Linked DNA regions of Homo sapiens: regions 1 and 3 are each linked to region 2. The links are contacts of gene promoters, found by promoter capture Hi-C in blood cells and fetal thymus (Javierre and others, 2016). All regions are on one chromosome and are shown on one strand. The core of a region is centred on a gene start or on the middle of the fragment in contact, and the rest is flanking DNA. Distances in the headings are between cores, read along the strand shown. Region 1 overlaps BDP1 (BDP1 general transcription factor IIIB subunit). Region 2 holds the start of CENPK (centromere protein K). Region 3 overlaps MCCC2 (methylcrotonyl-CoA carboxylase subunit 2).

Region 1 (4,794 bases), core at 1,108-3,607, 5.9 Mb after region 2:
CAGAAAGGAGATACCGATACTAGTCGCTGTTACATTAATAAAGTTCTCAGAGATTTCGTTAATTATGTGTGAGTGCGTGATGGTTGATAATTTAATAAATTGCCCAAAGATTGTAGTTTTGAGATATTTATGGTCAAGGATATTTAATTTTTTTTTTTGAGTTGACATTTACGTTTGGGGAATATAATTTGTTTTTTAGTCACTTTTTTTGCCATTACTGACTCTGGGAAAGTGGTTTTTTTTTTTTTTTTTAATTAGTTTTTTTTTTAGATGGAGTCTTGCTCTGTCGCCCAGGCTGAAGTGCAGTGGTACGGCTCACTGCAACCTCCACCTCCCGGGTTCTTGCAATTCTCCTGTCTCAGGCTCCCAAGTATCTGGGACTACAGGCGTGCCCCACCACGCCCAACTAATTTTTGTATTTTCAGTAGAGACAGGGTTTCACCATGTTGGCCAGGCTGGACTCGAACTCCTGACCTCAAGTGATCCACCTGCCTCAGCCCAAAGTGCTGGGGTTACAGGTGTGAGCCACCGTGCCCAGCCTCTTTTTATTTTTTTGTGGGTCTTTGCTAGTTGTAAAACTCTATAGGATATATATTCTGTCATTATGCATTCAACATAATTGGGTGAAATGCAGATAATGCATGTATCCATAACAGCTAAGATACGAATTTAAATTGAAGTCTTCCTGGAAAGGTTATTCTATAAGTTAAGGCATTTTCTAATTTTTTATAAGTAATTATAAAATAGGAAAAAAGTAGACTGTTTTTAATTATTGACTTATACCACCTCTTTTCTTGACTTAAGTTGCATTTATAGACCATTCCTGAAATACTTATATCTGAGGTATACCATACCTAATATGCAATTTGGGGTGACTGAGTACTTTTTTTGACTGAAGTTTATTCTGATGGCTGTATAAGTAGAGTTGTACCTGACAAAAGATAAATGATTTCTGCCTCAAAGGGAATTGGGTTTGGCTACTGTAACTAAATGTTTTTCTTCAAATACTGCAATACAGATATTTCAGAGGTTTGGAGTTTTGCATATTTGATTTGACTGACCTCGGGTTGATAAGTAAAGTAAAATGCCGGTAGTTTAGACCAGTTTAAAATGTCAGAGTGAATTAAAATTTTTTTAAATTTTATATAGAAATTAATTATAAATTATTACTTTGTTACTTAGTAATTCAAATTAGGTTGACTAAGCTTTGTTCTGTAAGTTGGTTATTTGTTTTGAGGGGGGTAAGCCTATAATTATGTGCTGTAATGTGCCTAGGGACTTTATGTTTGAAAAAGATTAAGAGTCTATTAGAATTTACGTATATTTAAAAGATTTACTAAACAAATTTTTTTGTAACCTGTCATAATTATCATAAATCTCAAGTTACTAATTTTTTTTTTTTAATTACGAGATTGCAGTTTTGGATTTTCACCAGACTAGGTTTTAAAACTAGCATGTGTAACAGAAGATTCATGTGCCCTCTTTTTTCTTTTTTAATTTCAACAGTACTGAAAAGACTGGTGGTGACAATGATGTTGAAGAATCCAGTAGATCTTCCTCTACTGTTTCACAGAGAAGAAAGCGAATATCAAGTACTTCTAGCCTGGTTAAGTCTAGTGTCAGTGTTCCTTCAGAATCTCATCCCTTATCTACAATTAATCAAGAGGCTCCACAGCCAACTGCCACTTCAACAAAAGAGAAACAGCCATGCTCAGACAGATACCGAATATACAAAGCCCAGAAACTGAGGGAAATGTTAAAAGAAGAATTGAGAAAAGAGAAGGTAAGGGAGGAGAATCAGGATTTTGATGTTGCCTTCTATTTATGTTAGTAAGGAATCATTGGGAAGAAAAGCATTTGTAGCATTTTGATGGGGGAACAAAACCACATAACATCCCTTAGTCAATAGAACATCCCTTCTTGTTAATGGATTGATTGATACACCGTGGACTTAAATTACATTTTTCACTGATAGTAATTTTTACATTATTTATTTATGTTTTCACTGTTTTTGGTGAAGACCACAAATAAGTTTCATACGCATACACATAGATGCACATACACAAACATATTTATAAAATAAACCTTCAGTCTGATTTTTCACATAAAGATGTCCAAGTGATAAGTGATATATTTATTTGAATTAAGACAAGTATAGGCCGGGCGTGGTGGCTCATGCCTGTAATCCCAGCACTTTGGGAGGACTAGGGGGGCAGATCACTTGAGGTCAGGAGTTCAAGACCAGCCTGGCCAACATGGCAAAACCCTGTCTCTACTAAAAATACAAAAATTAGCTGGGCCTGGTGACGTGCATCTGTAATCCCAACTACTGGGGAGGCTGAGGCATGAGAATTGCTTGAACCTGGGAGGTGGAAGTTGCAGTGAGCCGAGATTGTGCCTCTGCATTCCAGCCTGGGTGATAGAGTGAAACTGTCTCCAAAAAAAAGACGAATATAGTTGAGCAGAATGAATTGGTAATGTTTTCTAAATTGACTATGGAAAATTACAAGTGGGAAAAATTTGTGTTATGCATATATTAGAGTCCATGTTCTTTTTAATCTTGAGGATTGATTTCTTTTCTAGAAGGGCAGGTAACAGCAGTAGAGCATGCTGGCCCTGGAGTTAAATACTTAGGGATTGAATCTCAGCTTCATTTCTTTACTAGCTTTGTGACCTTGGGTAATTTAATTAATCTATTTCCTCATCTGTAAAATAGACCAATAATAGTTCAGGTTGAGCATCCCTGAAATTGAAAATGCTCCAAAGTCTAAAATGTTTTGAGTGCCAAAGTGATGCTCCAGGGAAATGCTCATTGGAGCATATTGGATTTCAAATTTTCAGGTTAGAGATGCTCAGCCAGCATGTATTCTGCAAGTATTCAAAAATGTGAAAAAATCCAAAATGTGAATCATTTCTGGTCTCAAGTATTTCAGATAAGAGATGCTCAACCTCTATCTAGCTCATTAGAGGGTTGTGAAGATTAAATGAGTCAATACATGTAAAACACACTTAAACTGGTGTCTTGGGCCTTGTGCAGTGGCTCACGCCTGTAATCCCAGCACTTTGGGAGGCCGAGGTGGGCGGATCACCTGAGGTCAGGAGTTCGAGACCAGCCTGGCCAACATGGTGAAACCCCGTCTCTACTAAAAATACAAACATTATCTGGTTGTGGTGGTGCACGCCTGTAATCCCAGCTACTCAGGAGGCTGAGACAGGAGAATCGCTTGAACCTGGGAGGCAGAGGTTGCGGTGAGCCAAAATCGTGCCATTGCACTCCAGCATGAGTGACAGAGCGAGACTCCGTCTCAAAAAAAACCAACCAAACAAAAAAACTAGTGTCATGAAAATAGTAAGTGTCCAACCAGTGTCAGCTTCTGTTATGAATTATAAAATGCCTCTTAGTTTTTTTTAAATTAAGGGAAGGCATTTTGCTTGGTGCTTTATATCTGTTATCTTATGTAATTATATCAACTATGTGAAGTAGATATCACTGTTTCACACAGGAGAAAACAAGCTTTCAATTTATGTCTTCTAAAATGTAAGCCTCACAACAATTGCTTGAACCTGGAAGGCGGAGGTTGCAGTGAGCTGAAATTGTGCTACTGCATTCCAGCCTGGGCGACAGATCAAAGCCTCTAAAAATGTTTTATGGGTTGGGAATTGGGGGTGGGGGGATTAAAAAAAAGTTCTGTATTTTACAGAAACTGCTTATTTGCTTATTTAATTTATTTTGGGGAATTAAAGATTAAACATTTGCTTCAAGAATTTTACAAAATACACAGAATTTCAAGTCACTACAGGGTAAAAAAAAAGCTGTGTAAGCATAAATTCTCAGTGAGCTATTAAGATGTTTAGTTAGAAGGCATCAGTAAGCATTTTATACATTGAGCTTTATTAGTTTTATTCTTTGGTTATTTATTTAGTTTTGAGACAAGGTCTCACTGTCACCCAGGATGGAGTGCGCTAGTATAATTGCAGTTCACTGCAGCCTCAACCTCCCAGGCTCAAGTGATCCTCCCACCTCAGCCTCCCAAGTAGCTGTGGCTATAGGCATATGCCACCACATCCAGCTAATTTTTTTGTATTTTTTTGTAGAGATAGGGTCTCATTTATGTTGCCCAGGCTGGTAACTCCTGAGCTCAAGCGATCCTCCTGCCTCAGCCTCCCAAAGTGCTGGGATTAGAGAAATAAGCCACTGTGCCTGGCCACATTGAGCTTTTATCTAGTCCTAGTCACTTTAATTGTTAAAATCTAAATACTGCCTGGGTGTGTGGTTCACTCCAGTGCTTTAGGAGTGTGAGGCAGGAGGATCACTTGAGCCCAGGAATTTGAGAGCAGCCTTGGCAACGTAGGGAGACTCCATCTCTACCAAAAAAAAAAAAACCCCACAAAATTAGCCAGGTGTTAGGCAAGCATCTGTAGTCCCAGCTACTTGGGAGGCTGAGGTGGGAGGACTGCTTGAGCTCAGGAGTTCAAGGCTGCAGTGAGCTATGATTGCGCCACTGCACTTTAGCCTGGATGACAGAGCAAAACCCCATCTCAAAAGTAGATAAATAAAAACTAAAAGCTATTGAGGGTAATGTGCTACAACTTTTTAATATTCCATCTACAAAATTACATAATTGGGGTGAGAATAATATTAAAGCACTTACAGTGAACGCAACAGTGGACTGTATATTTGCATATAGTACATCTGAAATTCTTTAATATTTATAAAAGTGGATCTGTGTGTTTATGTATACAGAAACAATGGAAAAACAAATATGCTATAAATGAAAGTCAGAGGCCACCAGA
Region 2 (4,316 bases), core at 74-2,573:
ATAATTCTAAAATACATTCATTTATTCAACAAATATGTTAATGTGTGCCATTGGTCAGACACTGGCTTTAGCTGTGTAGATGAAAAAGTCTTTGTACTTGTAGAGCTTCCATTCTCATGCAGACAATATAAATGAATGGATAACTAAATACATGATATGATTTCAGGTAGTCAGAAGTGCTATGAAATGGTAAAGTATACAACACTGCCTGCAAGTACTATCGGAATTCAGGATAGGGAAGCTTAGAAAAACCAACCCGGAAGGAATTAGTCCATAATAATGCTTAATAAATGTTAACTAGCTACATTATTATTATCATTATCATTATCATCTTCATCCTCATTATTGCATTGGTCTCTGAAAGATGAGAAGCTGTAAACATGAAGGCTAAATCGCTGTGGAGATGCTTTCAAGCATAAAAACATAAGAGTAGGAGGCAAGAACGAACAAGGGAAATTTGTGAGACACAAAAGAAAGTAGTCTGATGAGAGCAGAGGGCAGAGAAGAAATGAGACTTGCTAGGTAGAATGGTCAAATAATGGGAACCTTTGAAATAAAATAAAGTGCCTACTATGGGGGGGCAGTTCCTTCCCTGTACGTGGTGCCTATCTCAAGGCAAAAGTAGAGAAGAGATTTACGACGAGGATTTTATTAGGTTGGTGCAAAAGTAATTGCAGAGAAAAAAGAAGTGTTTTACGGAGGTCATTTTGACAAGCTGTATTTGATTTTTTAAAAAAGAGATTAAGATAATACATTTTATGTTATGTGCTTTTTACCTAATTTTTTAAAAATGAAGAAGACAGATGAGGAGGAGGAGAAAGAGTTCAGATGACTGCTAGGAGATGAAATCCTATACCAGAGAGAAGAAAGAAGAGTGACCCGTTCTGCCCTAGGTCTTTTGGTTATTTGAAGTAGCTGCTTCTCCACCCCACCCCCAGAAACAGTAACAAGCACTCACCACCTTCTTCAGAGAGTGTGTGAGAGAATAAAGGTCAGGAGAGAAAACATGTTTAGTGCATCTGAAAGGAAACCCGCGAGTTAACCACTTCCTTCTGTCCCCACCCTTCCATCTTTCTCTAAATATTGGTGAGGTTATGGAGCTTGCGTTGGCGCGCGGGAAGCCGAGAAGAACGGGACTCAAAGCCCGGCTGGGAAGTCAGGTATCTAGTTGGCCGGCGATAAGGGTTTCACCTTCAGGACTGGAGCTCCACAAGATTCAACCGTTATATCAACCTCCCCGGCCCAGGTCTTACCATCACAGCGTCACAAACTCCAGGTCGCCTAGGCGCTGCGCAGGAAGCGCTTGCCAGCCCCGGACTTCTGCGCGCGCTGCATGCCCATTGGATGTGCTCATTCCCACCCCAGCCAATCCCGAAACTCGCTCGGACGCTGACAGAAGACTGCGCCGCTGCTTTGGGATTGGTAGCTGAGTTTTGTGTCGCGCCTTTTCTGACGATGCGAACAACATGGCGGCGGAAAGTGGTAGCGATTTTCAGCAGAGACGTAGAAGGCGCCGGGACCCGGAGGAACCGGAAAAAACAGAACTCAGCGAAAGAGAGCTGGCAGTAGCAGTGGCGGTGTCCCAGGAGAACGATGAGGAGAACGAAGAGCGCTGGGTTGGACCTTTACCTGTGGAGGCAACACTGGCCAAGAAGAGGAAAGGTAGCTGCAGACATAGTACCGGGACGAATTGGAGTGCTGCGTCCGCTGAGTAGGAGGGTTCAAGCCAGATCCGAAGAGGGATGATGTGTGGAGTTTTGTGCCCTCAGAACAGAGGGCCGTCCTCTCACTTCTGGCTACTCCATACTTGCATGTCTTAACGAAATAGTGATTTAAGCGTAGTACAACGTCTTTTTGATAATATCTAACACTTTTGATCATTGATTTGTTATGACAGATGCTAAAACTAACATTTTCCTATTCTTATGTGTTTGGCTCCTCTCATTTACTCCCCACAGCAGCCACATGAAGTTGGAATTTCGAACTCTTATTTAGGTATGCAAAAGGGTACCAGTTCTCTTTAAGGCTTTAGTTCAGGAGTGGTGTTAATGTATTAATGTGTTGGGGCGCGAGAGGAAGGCGGTGCTTATTTCGAATCATGGTAGGTAAAGATAATTTCAACTCTGACACTTCCACTAATAAATTTTCGCATCTAGGGAAAATGACGTAAGCTTCCTAGATCACAGATTTGTTTTCATCCAAAACCCGAAGTCTGTGGTTTTGAAATCACGCTCTTGATACGATGGGCTGAGTCTTTTTGTCACTAACGAGGAATAATCACAAATTATTATCAAATAAAAGGGGTGGGAAAAGGGGTAGATTAAGTTTTCTTGTCTTTGTTGTTTTGTTATCTTGTTTTTCTGTGAAATGTTTTCCTTAAGTATTTAAGACATTTTAAATGTGGTCTAAGCTCAAATCGTACTTTAGCACCTTCCCTTAAAAAACTTCAATGATTTGTCATTATTTTCTCTCTCTTTTTTTTTTTTTTTTTTTTTTTTGAGACGGAGTCTCGCTCTGTCGCCCAGGCTGGAGCGCATGCAGTGGCGCTATCTCGGCTCACCGCAACCTCCGTCTCCGGGGTTCAAGCGATTCTCCTGCCTCAGCCTCCCGAGTAGCTGGGGCTACAGGCGCACGCCCAGCTAATTTTTGTATTTTTAGTAGGGACGGGGTTTCACCATGTTGGCCAGGATGGTCTTGATTTCTTGACCTCGTAATCTGCCTGCCTCGGCCTCTCAAAAGTGCTGGGATTACAGGCATGAGCCACGGCGCCCAGCTCATTATTTTCATTAAAGCCCAAACTCCCTCACATGGCATATAAAGCCCTTTATGATGTGATCTCTCCTTACCTTCTTAGTGCATCTTCCATTACCTTCCTCTCCCAACCCCTTACTTTGTACTCCACCCATTCTAAAATCACTCGAGAATCGGTCTTGTACTTTTTTTTCCTCTGGATTCCTACCCAGATATGGTGTTTCTACCGGGAATAATTTCCCTCAACTCTTCCACTGAACTGACTTTTGGTCAACCTTTAGCACTTAGCTATCATCTTCTCTGGGAAGCCTGTGACTTCTCCAGTCTGGACTGGATTTCTGAAGCACTTTGATCATAACTCTGAGGTAGTTATATATCAATACTGAATTTACAGGTAGCCTTCAAATTTTATGTATCCAAATTTTGAAGAAGCTGTTTTTTTGAACGTTGTATATTGACACCCTTACAGTGCATTATCATTTTTACTTCCTGGTCCTCTTATTAAATGTTTCCATAGTAACCATTTTATTTATGGCACTTGCCGCAGTTTCTAATTATATATTTATTCATGTGATTGATGAATGTTTCTCTCCACTGCTAAGACTGTAAACAAGTAAGAACCAGAATCACGCCTTTTTTGTTTCATTGCTTGGTGTACAGTGCTTTGCCTAAGTATTTAATGACTGCATATTAAAGCTTTTATGCTGGTCTTTAGCTATTTTGTTGCATATGAATATTTTTGCAAGTTCTTTTTTAATTAAACGAGTAAGGAGAAATGTAAAAATCCAGAAATATCGAAATGCTGATATTAGTGTTACCGGACAAGTGTCTTATAAACTTAATATAACGGAGACAGATATAAATTAGTAGGTGTGAAAATCTTTCCTCTTAATCAGTTATTTATTGTTTTAAGACAGCCAATAGTTGGCCGGGTGTGGTGGCTGATGCCTGTAATCCTGGCACTTTGGGAGGCTGAGGCGGGCAGATCATCAGGTCAGGAGTTCTAGACCAGCCTGACCAACATGGTGAAACCCCGCCAGTCTCTACTAAAAATACAAAAAAATTAGCCGGGCGTGGTGGCGCACACCTATAATCTCAGCTATTCAGGAGGCTGAGGCAGGAGAATCACTTGAACCCAGGAGGCAGAGGTTGCAGTGAGCTGAGATTGTGCCACTGTACTTCAGCATGGGCAACAGAGCAAGACTCCGTCTCAAAAAAAAAAAAAAAAAAAGCCAATAGTTTATTCAGTTTGAAGAAAAAAATTGAAACTAAAAAACATACATAGAATGTTACAAAAATATTTAAAATTTTGTCTAAATGGACAAGTATTTAACAATTTCAGCTTTCTAGAAATGGAGTCACCCCCTTTAACATGTTCTTTGGACATTGGACTGTTGTATATATTTTCAGAAAGACATGATTATATAGCACTATATCTCTTCAGGACAGGAACTGTGTTTTACTCTTCTTTATGCCCATGTGACCTAGAACGTATTGTGTTCTTAGTAAGTATTTGTCCACAAGTGAACTATCACACAGAAAAAGGAATCTGGATCAGATAGGAT
Region 3 (4,364 bases), core at 1,579-4,078, 6.0 Mb after region 2:
AGATGGGGTGGGAAACTTGTCAGTGGCTCAGCTCCAATTCATTATGACTGTCAGGCACTAACCTCTGTGGTTGCTCAGCTTCACAAGAAAATTACTAGGTTGTAGAATGTTGTTTCGCAGGTGATTAAAACACACACACACACACACACAAACACAAACACCTGGCGTCCTGAGAGATCAAGATTTGCCAAATGCAGTATCAGTAAGTAGGGAAACTGAAAGTTGAACTTGGTTTTGCCACTAAACTACACTGCCTCTTGGTTAGTGAGTCTCATCCTAAGGAGGCTAGGTTGGTTGATAAAGGATTGCCTGGGAGGTGAACTGTAGCCAGTACTGGCTCTTCTGTGATTTAAGTCTGATGGGCTGAGCTTGGCACAGATGTTGCCCAGTCTGTAGAGGCAAATGTCAGCTTCAGTGGGTCAGTGCTTTTCTTCTTTGACCCACTGGTTGCTTAAAAGTACGTTGTTTAATTTCCATATATTTGTGAATTTTCCAGTCATCCTTCTGCCATTGATTTCTAGTTTCATTCCATTGTGATTGAAAGGATACTTTTGGGCCAGGCATGGTGGCTCAGGCCTGTAATCCTAGCGCTTTGGGAGGCCGAGGCTGGTGGATCACCTGAGGTCAGGAGTTCTAGACCAGCCTGGCCAACATGGTGAAACCCTGTCTCCACTAAAAATAAAAAAATTACCTGGGCATGGTGGCGCACGCCTGTAATCCCAGCTACTTGGGAGTGTGAGGCAGGAGAGTCGCTTGAACCCGGGAGGCGGAGGTTGCAGTGAGCTGAGACTGTGCTACTGCACTCCAGCCTGGGCGACACGGCCAGACTCCGTCTCAAAAAAAAAAAAAAGGATACTTTGTATGATTTCAGTCTTTTAAAATTTATTAAGATTTGTTTTGTGGCCTGACATGTAGTCTATCTTGGAGAATGTTGCCTGTGCACTTGAGAAAAGTTACATACTTTTTTCTGCTGTTGTAGGGTGACAAGTTCTGTATATTGTGTTAGCTCCAACTGGTTCTTTCCCTAATACCATGCTGCTTCCTTGTTTTTTATTTTCTGGATTTTGCAGAGCAAGAGAATGTAGCAGAAATCATGACCCTCAGAGCTCTTGGAGCTGTAGAAAATAGGAAATAATGGAGATATACTGTAGACTGAATATTCATCTAAGTTTGAACAGTTAGGAAGTTGCTTAGTGTTCTGTCAAACAGAAGGAACTAAATAACTAGAGATGCTAATCACATGGGGAGCAAAATGTATTAGTGGGCCAAGTCTGAATTTCAAAGATAATTAGCTAGTTAAGTATTGTTCTAAAGTAATATGCTGACCAAACAAAATTTAAAAATACAGAAGGGTGAAAAGTTAGTCCCTCTACCTCTTTTCTACTTCTCACTGTCAATATTTCCTTGTGTATTACTTAATTTGTGTATATATGCCAGCATAGAGTTTTGTTCTGTTTTTTTTTTTTTTTTTTTGAGATGGAGTTTTGCTCTTGTTGCCCAGGCTGGAGTGCAATGATGCAATCTTGGCTCACTGCAACCTCCGCCTCCCGGGTTCGAGGGATTCTCCTGCCTCAGCCTCCCGAGTAGCTGGGATTACAGGCAAGCACCACCTTGCCTGGCTAATTTTGTATTTTTTAGTAGAGACGAGTTTTCTCCATGTTGGTCAGGCTGGTCTCGAACTCCCGACCGTAGGTGATCTGCCCGCCTCGGCCTCCCAAAGTGCTGAGATTACAGGCGTGAGCCACCACGGCTGGCCGAGTTTTGTTCTTTTTACTAATTTATTTATTTATTTGAAACAGTCTTGCTCTGTCACCCAGGCTGGAGTACAATGGCACGATCCTAGTTCACTGCAGCTTCAAACTCCTGGGCTCAAGAGATCCTTCCACCTTAGTTGGTCAAGTCGCTGGGACACACCACCATGCCCAGATAATTTTTAAATTTTTATTCTTTTTATTTTTATTCTTTTTGTAAAGATGGAAGTCTCCCTATGTTACTCAGGCTGGTCTCAAACTCCTGGGCTTAAGCGATGCTCCTGCCTCCGCCTTCCAAAGCTCTGGGATAACAGACATAAGCCACCACACTCAGCCTGTTCTTTTTAAAACATAAAATAGGATCCTTGGCCAGGTGCGGTGGCTCATGCCTGTAATCCCAGCACTTTGGGAGGCCGAGATGGGCAAATCACTTGAGGTAAGGAGTTTGAGATCAGCCTGGCCAACATGGCGAAACCCGGTCTCTATTAAAAATACAATAATTAGCTGGGCATGGTGGCACACACCTGTAGTCCCAGCTACTTAGGAGGCTGAGGCAGGAGAATCGCTTGATCTCGGGAGGCGGAGGTTGCAGTGAGCCGAGATTGCACCATTGCACTCCAGCCGGGGCAACAAAGGGAGACTCTGTCCCAAAAAATAAAAATACAAAATTAAAAATAAAAATAAGATCCTTTTTCTCCCTCTGGGATTTGTTTTTAAGTGTACTTTGTCAGTAAGCAAGCATTGGTTGGAATCTCAGATAGTGACTGATGGGACAGGAAAAATAAGATGGTATTCTAACCTTCAAAAAGCTTATATTCCTTAAAATAGGAAAACAAATAGAGATCAGTTTAAGTTCAGAAGGTGTTTAAGGAAGAAAGATGTTAAATTGAGTAGGAGTGGCCAGAAGTAGAGTTGAAGATGAGATAAAACATGAATTAGGCTTACAGAGGAGTAAGATATGGAGAGATGGACAAGTGGGGTGGTGAAGAAGAGCTTGAACAAGACAGGCAGGGGTGAATCTTTTCCATACGATCCAGTGGCCCAGCGTGGCTGCCACAGATGGGGTGGCCCAGTGTGGCGGCCACACAGAGTTGGCACAGACCACTGTTTTTTTTTTTTTTTTGACCTTTATTTTGGTAAAAAGGAATTGCTTTCTAATATTTCTCTCCCCTGTCTCCTCTATTTCTGTTTTAGGAGAACTACAAGCAGATGAAAGCACTAGTAAATCAGCTCCATGAACGAGTGGAGCATATAAAACTAGGTAAACACAGCATTTATTCCACAGCTTATGCCTTTACTTAAGATGTCCTAAAATAGTTATTGCTTTTAGGAAAAATACTGGAATTAAGCTTTTGATATTTTTTTTTTTTTTTTGAGATGGAGTCTTGCTCTCTTGCCCAGGCTGGAGTGCAGTGGCGCCATCTCAGCTCACTGCAACCTCCGCCTCCTGGGTTCAAGCCATTCTCCTGCCTCAGCCTCCCAAGTTGTTGGGATTACAGGTGCCTGCCTCCATGCCTGTCTAATTTTTGTATTTTTTAAATAGAGACAAGGTTTCACCATGTTGGCCAGGCTGGTCTTGAACTACTGATGTCAAGTGATCCATCTGCCTTGGCCTCCCAAAGTGCTGCAATTATAGGCGTGAGCCACTACTCCTGGCTGAGCTTTTGACTCTTAAGACTATGCATTTGTTGGTATGCAGGCATTTAATTTTATTTTTCCTATTACTTGGCCAGTTTTTCTCTTCATAGAGTACTACCACTTTTGGGGGGAAAAGTAAAGATTCAAATTCATAAATTTTATGAATAAATAATTTATTTTTAATTTTTATTAATTTTTTTTTTAAGAGATGGGTTCTTGCTCTATTGCCAGGCTGGACTGAACCCCTGGCTCAAGCGATCCTCTCATCTTGGCCTCCCAAAGTGCTGGGATTACAGGTATGAGCCACCACACCTGGCCAGTGATTTCTTAGTAGGCATTTAATATTTCCTCCCTAAGTGCTGAATCTCAGATGGAAAGCATTCTTCATATTTGATAGACTGTTTCAGATAACTTTTATCAACAAGTATATAATACTTAAAATTGTATATAATACTTTTAATGTAAAATTTTACATTTAGGTTAGAGTAGTTTAAATACTGGATCTCAGGAGTATAAAAATAGTGAAGAAGACTGGATTTGGAAAGTATGGTCTAGAATTGCTTATTTACTAGTTTATTTAGAGACAGGGTCTCCTCACTCTGTTGCTCGGGCTGGACTCGAAGTCGGGAGCTCAAGTGATCTTCTTGCCTCAGCCTCCCAAGTAGCTGAGACTGTACCTGTGCCCCTGTACGCAGCTATGGAATTCATACTTTTGAAGCCATTTTAGATCAAGGTGTTGTCTCCAGAAAAAGAATTCAAACTCTTGCTGAAATGAAAGTGTTTTGTTAGGGGTGATAACTCAATTGTTATGCCCATTTTGAGAGTTTGATTTGGTGAACTCACTGTCCCCCTTAGACATTAAGATGGTGGGTTTTGGGGCCAGGCACAGTGGCTCACGCCTGTAATCCCAGCACTTTGGGAGGCCGAGGTGGGCGGATCACATGAAGTCAGGAGTTCGAGACCAGACTGAGCAAC

Evidence for each region. Contacts are between HindIII fragments. The CHiCAGO score rates a contact against its expected background, and 5 or more counts as called.
Region 1: a fragment that was not itself captured here is called in contact with the fragment with the promoter of CENPK in region 2 in 8 of 17 cell types (non-activated CD4 T cells, total B cells, naive B cells and 5 more); the score reaches 16.7 in non-activated CD4 T cells.
Region 3: a contact is called between a fragment that was not itself captured here and the fragment with the promoter of CENPK in region 2, in 6 of 17 cell types (naive CD4 T cells, total B cells, non-activated CD4 T cells and 3 more). The highest score is 15.1, in naive CD4 T cells.

What each region holds. Positions count from the first base shown.
Region 1 is chr5:71,457,073-71,461,866 of GRCh38, forward strand. BDP1 (BDP1 general transcription factor IIIB subunit) reads left to right here. Exons shown (of 39, transcript NM_018429.3): 2 at 1,507-1,783; 3 at 4,745-4,794. Among named protein-coding and RNA genes, the nearest start is that of BDP1, 3.8 kb to the left of the region's middle. The HindIII fragment of the contact is 2,309 bases long and covers 1,204-3,512 here.
Region 2 is chr5:65,561,845-65,566,160 of GRCh38, forward strand. It overlaps CENPK (centromere protein K), which reads right to left and starts at 1,324. Exons shown (of 11, transcript NM_022145.5): 1 at 1,254-1,324. It overlaps PPWD1 (peptidylprolyl isomerase domain and WD repeat containing 1), which reads left to right and starts at 1,452. Exons shown (of 11, transcript NM_015342.4): 1 at 1,452-1,662. The coding sequence starts at 1,467. RefSeq lists enhancers at 579-1,240, 961-1,100, 1,241-1,901. The HindIII fragment of the contact is 1,930 bases long and covers 240-2,169 here.
Region 3 is chr5:71,589,981-71,594,344 of GRCh38, forward strand. MCCC2 (methylcrotonyl-CoA carboxylase subunit 2) reads left to right here. Exons shown (of 17, transcript NM_022132.5): 2 at 2,946-3,012. Among named protein-coding and RNA genes, the nearest start is that of MCCC2, 4.8 kb to the left of the region's middle. The HindIII fragment of the contact is 540 bases long and covers 2,559-3,098 here.